Regions from separate parts of the Homo sapiens genome. Here region 2 is linked to region 1. The links are contacts of gene promoters, found by promoter capture Hi-C in blood cells and fetal thymus (Javierre and others, 2016). All regions are on one chromosome and are shown on one strand. Each heading gives the region's core, a stretch centred on a gene start or on the middle of the fragment in contact. The rest is flanking DNA. Distances are from core to core; before and after follow the strand shown.

Region 1 (2,700 bases), core at 201-2,700:
GTTCACCTGCAGCAGCCCTGGCTCCTAGGCTGCCCGAGACGTTCCATTCATTCTTCCTCCACGTGGCATGGGGAAGCTTTTCCTGGCCCCCTTGTTTAGAAGGCAGATCTCTACCGGAGAGAAGGAATCTCAAGTTCCCCAAGCATCCACGTGTCCAGGCCCCAGGCTGAGGCCTGGGGTGCTGGATTGCTGAGTGGTTAGGAGACCCGCTATGGAGCCAGACGGCCTGTGCTCCCGCCATCCCAACTCGGGCACCTCCCTGCTGTGTGATCTTGGGCAGGTTAATTCTCATCTCTGAGCTACATGTATCTGCCTTAAGCTCCCTCTTCTTCATCACCACATTCACAGGGAGTATTTATTGAGGGCTTGGCAAGTACCAGGCACTGGTCTGAGTAGCAGGTTTGACTTCTCTCCACTGCCAGGGGCGCTCTGGAGCTGGAATGCAGACGGTGGTCAGCGAGTGTAATTACTGTTATTGTCACCACTCACCCTTCTGGCATTGTAAAAGCCTCCCAGCACATCTGACTGAGGAATCATCTATCCTCATTGCTCGGAGGAGGAGGGCAGACAGGAGCCTCTGCAGGGAGTGTGAGTTATCCAAAGCCTCCTGACTCGAGAAGGGCACTGAACCCCAGCAGCGGGAGGTGCTGCTGACAGAGGAATGACCAGAAGGGGGATGGGGCATGGTCCATTTCCACACTTCTCTGTCTGAGCTTTTGGGGCCACTGGGAATGGCTCTTCACCCAGGCCTCGGTTTCCCCTTTGGCTCAGCAGATGGATTAAAGGAGGCCGTTTCCAGAAGCCCCTGGGGTCTCAGAATCCAAAATGACTTGGGATGTTGAAACTGTGGGTGCTTGAGGAGCACTGAGAGGGGAGACGGGTCACCCCCCGGGGGGACGCAGGTCAGCCGGTCAGTCGTGCGTGGCCTGGCTGGCCTCCTGCCCGGCTGCCTGTCACCCGCTCCCTCCCGACTGCCTTCCGCTCTGCCGGTCAGCACTGGCTCCCGTCGGCTGCCAAGGAGGCTGGACTCTCCTTCAGGAAAGGGCAGTTGTCGCCCTGACCTGGGGGGTGGGCGGACAGCATCCAAGGGCCCTGTTGCCGTGGCAACCCCGGCCTCTCTGTGGGAACTTTGGGGAGACTGGCCCTGGGAGGCGACAGATGGAGGCTGAGGAAGCAGAGTGATCCCCGGCCCCTTCCTGTCCCTGAACACTGTCTGCCTGGATGAGGGGTGAGGCTGAGGTGCCCCCTTGCCCGGCGCTGAGTCATGGGCATCCCCCAGGATCACTGCCTCAGCGCTCTCAGCCCTGCCCCCTCCTGGTCTCCCTCTGAGAAATCCATGACTCACATATATCGTCCGTCATCCCCAGTCAAGCTCAGGGAGGAGGGAGGAGCCCAGCTGGGGCAGGAGAGGGGTGTCTCCCCACCAAACAAACCCGGTCCCTCCCTCTCCGCACTAGCTGTCTGCCCTGCCCTGCCGTAGGAGATGGGCTGGGAGCCTCCCACGCTCTCCAGCTCACTCGGCAGGCAGCGGGGACCAGGGCTGGCAGGTTAAGCCTCTGGGGGTGGATCCTGAAAGGTGGTCCAGCCGCCTGGCCCTGCGTGGGACCCTCCACCTGGCAGCAGGTACCCAAACAAGGGCTGGACAGCAGGTGGGAAGGGGAATAGTGTGAGTGTGAGAGTGTGAGTGTGTGAGCGTGAGTGTGTGAGAGTGTGAGTGTGTGAGTGTGAGTGTGTGAGAGTGAGTGTGAGTGTGAGTGTGAGCGTGAGAGTGTGAGAGTGTGTGAGTGTGAGTGTGTGAGAGTGAGTGAGAATGTGAGTGTGAGTGTGAGAGTGTGACTGAGCGTTTGAGTGTGAGAGTGTGAGTGAGTGTGTGTGAGTATGAGTGTGAGTGTGAGTGTGGGAGTGTATGTGAGTGTAAGTGTGGATGTGTGCATCCGTGCACGGGTGGCTGTTGGACAGTGGGTAGGGATGGTGGTGAAATGGGGAAATGGGGGGGTCTTGGTATCTTGGTGGGATCTAGTCCAGGTCAGCATGGCTGTGGGTGGGTCTCTAGAGTGGGGGCGGACCCACAAGGAGATGCCTGGGAGGGGACTGGGGCCCAAGGGGAGCGACACCTCCCGGGGCTCCCAGGCATTTTGTTGCTGGAGAAACTGAGGCTCAGAGTGGTACAGTCACTGGGCCCAGCAAGCTGGGGTCTGCTCTTTAGGCTGTGAGATCAGTGCTCCTACTACACAGATGGGAGAACCGAGGCTCTGGGAGGGCAGGTGGCTTGCCCAAGGTCACCTAGCACATCCAGGTATAGAAAGCCAGGGGCCAGGCTCAGGGAGGGGGTGGCACTTGAGGGAACTCCTGAGGACAGCTTTCCTGCAGCTGTCCCTGGGGCTGGGTCCGGGGTCCCCACTGAGCAAGGGACAGCCGTGCTCTTCATCACCAAGGCCAGCTTTGGGAGAAGGTGGCCCCGCAGGGTCTCTGAACGTGGGCCACGTGGGTGAGAGTCCTGGAACCGGTGACAGGCAGACGGGGAAGCGCAGGCTGCGGGCTGAACACCCTGCCCGTTGCCACCAGACCTCAGGGCTCCATCTGCCTGGCACTGATAGGACTTCCCACCCTGGTCCCCGCGGGGGCTGGGAGTGTGTAGGAAACCAATGATTCCTGTCCTCCCCCGTCCCCAACCCACCTCCCCTGCGTGGTAGAGTTGGG
Region 2 (2,700 bases), core at 190-2,689, 110 kb after region 1:
CTCACTGTCACCCAGGCTGGAGTACAGTGGTGCAATCTCAGCTCACTGCAACCTCTGCTTCCCGGGTTCATGCGATTCTCGTGCCTCAGCCTCCCGAGTAGCTGGGATCACAGGCACCCGCCACCACACCCGGCTAATTTTTGTATTTTTAGTAGAGACGGGGTTTCACCATGTTGGCCAGACTCGTCTCGAACCCCTGACCTCAGGTGATCCACGTGCCTCAGCCTCCCAAAGTGCTGGGATGACAGGCATGAGCCACCATGCCTGGCCAAGACTCCACACTTTTTAACCATGAATTTAACCATAAGACTCTGGGCAAAGCTCTTTGCAGGGCCTCTGTTTCCTTGTTTGTAAAGTGAGAGGTTTGGGCCATTTTCATGTTGTTCCCCAAAACTCTAGGGCTCTGGGAGAACCCTGTTATGGTTCCCCAAGGAAGGCACACTTTGGTCAGAGTGGCTTTGTAATTATTGGGATTACGTATTCATCCCTTCGACAGCTGGCCTTTCCCCAGAGCTAGGCACTGGGGAGCCACTGGGGGACAAAGTAGTCAAGGTCTCTGTACAGCGGGAGCTCAGAGCCTGGGGAGAGCAACAGGCAGGAACTGGATAACCGTATCCCTCTGTGTCTCCTCTAGTTGCAAGCTGGTGCCTGTGCTTTGAATCAGTTAGCTGGGGGGTAGGGGTAGGGGTGGGGTGGGAATGCTGCAGGCTGCATGAACAGCAAGTGCAAAGGCCCTGAGGCAGGAGGCTCAGTGTATTGGAAGGACTCAAGGGAGGCCATGGGCAGTGGCACAGCAGCAGGAGGAATGTGGGGCCGCACGGACCTACTGAGTTCTCAGGACCCCAGCCCTCCTGAGGCTGCCGTGCTTTATCATAAAGGCAAGGCCAAGCCATCAGTGTGTGCGAGCAGGAGGTAATGAGATCAGGCGTATTGGGCATCTGCTGCTGCTGCTGATTTCATGTGCACGGTGGTGTCCGTGGGAATCAACTCTGAAGAGCCCAGGGCCACGTGACCTCTGGCTCCTTGTGGCTCCAGGGTCTGGTGAGGATCAGAGGTGCGTGGCCCACATGAGGTCGTTGAAACCTAGTACTTTGTATCTTGCATTTGGGATGCTGATCCTCAGCCCCTCTGGCCACGCCGCACCATGTTCCCCAGCTTTGGCTGGATGTGGGGCCCAGGTTGTACTCCCAGAGCTTGGCCTGCCAGTAGACACTGAGGATTTTTATTTTTTATTTTTGGTATGAAAATCAAGTATTCGGCCTGGGCTGTTGGTTGCTGTCCAACAAGCCAGGATGAAGGAGGAGCTCTTGGGGTGGTGCCCCGTGCCTCCTTTGCAGGTGCCTGTGCTGTGTCCCTGCCCCTCTGCCCTCCCTCTGTGGGCTCCAGTCAGTCCCTGGTCAGGCTGCTTAGAGGGGAGTGATGTGGGCTCCTCCAGAAGGGCCCAACTTCTAAATCTTTCTCACTCCAAAGTCTGCGGTTTTGCCAGCTCAGTGTCCCGCCCCCACCACCATCTGATTATACTGGGGCATATTTCGTGCAAGGCCTAGAACAGGCACCCAGGAAATACTGATATTATGAATGAATGCCCCTGACTCCAGGGGCAGCAGTCCTGAGGCCCAGTGAGGTGGGGCCCAGCCAGACACTTTCCCTGGGAGGAGTGAGGGCCAGGGGACAGACAGAGCCCTCCAGGTAGGCCAGGGGGAGCGAGCAGTGCCTCCACGGAGAGGACACCAGGCTCGGGCACGGAATGCCAGGGAGAAGGTGCTTTGCCCTCTTTCTGGGTCAGGTGGAAACCTTGAACAGACACGTCTGTGGCTGGAATTCCTCAGGTTTCTGTCCCGACAGTGTCCAGAGGACAGAAGGCTCTCATCGAGACGGGACTAAAGTGGGGCCCAGCTCCCTGGGATCCCCATGGCGAACTCCCAGCGCCCTGGCCCAGGTTTGGGCCCACAGGGAACCCTCGCCCTTGCTGGCGCTGCTGCCTGTGCTGGCTCTGCCCCGACCGGCCCAGGAGGCAGGGTGTCATCAGTGAGATTCAGCCTGCGACTTGTCCCCTGGGTATTCCTGGTGGCCCCTTGGAGCCCAGGTTTCTGGCAAGCAGCTTCCCTGGGCCCAGTTTCCCAACCTCCTTGTGGTCTGAAGCCCGCAGCAGAGACACCCAGGCAGGGTGGAGTCGGAGCTGGGGTGCAGGAGGGGCCTCTGTGGAGCGCCGTGGCTCCAACACCCTTTTCCTTGGCGTCACCCACGCTGGCCTTCCGGGTGCCTCGGGGCGTCAGCACCTTGGGGTTTTCCCCTGGCCTGTGTGGGGAGAACTGTCTTTTTTCTCCCTTCTTTCCAGGAGGAGCTCATGCAGGGATGGGTTCTGAGGCCCGGGCCGCCTCTTGGTTCCCTGCCTGTGCTTTGCTCCCTGCGGAGTCCTCCGAGGCTCCTGTCTGCCATCTCCACGGACCAGGCCAGGGCCTTGGGCTGTCTGCACAGGCTCCTCCTCTGTGTGGTCAGCCCTCACCCCCACCCCAGCTGCTCAGTCTGTTGCCTCCTGCCCCCTCCTCATGAAGCCCACCCTCTGGTGCCCGCCCAGGCCCCCATGCCCACTCTCTCATGGTGACTAGCCCCGAGCCTGCCCAATGTCACGGAGCCCTCGCCTGCTACTAAGCAGCACGTAGGCGCGCTCTGAGGGAGTCCTCAGCATCAGGTGTGAGC

What was found. Contacts are between HindIII fragments. The CHiCAGO score rates a contact against its expected background, and 5 or more counts as called.
Region 2: a fragment that was not itself captured here is called in contact with the fragment with the promoter of ADGRG1 in region 1 in 1 of 17 cell types (megakaryocytes); the score reaches 5.2 in megakaryocytes.

Annotation. Positions count from the first base shown.
Region 1 is chr16:57,627,180-57,629,879 of GRCh38, forward strand. It overlaps ADGRG1 (adhesion G protein-coupled receptor G1), which reads left to right and starts at 1,451. Exons shown (of 14, transcript NM_201525.4): 1 at 1,451-1,623. RefSeq lists enhancers at 632-1,287, 1,288-1,943 and a silencer at 1,493-1,562. The HindIII fragment of the contact is 3,448 bases long and covers 75-2,700 here.
Region 2 is chr16:57,738,286-57,740,985 of GRCh38, forward strand. The region is part of intron 2 of KATNB1 (katanin regulatory subunit B1); the gene reads left to right. Among named protein-coding and RNA genes, the nearest start is that of KATNB1, 3.9 kb to the left of the region's middle. The HindIII fragment of the contact is 6,249 bases long and covers 1-2,700 here.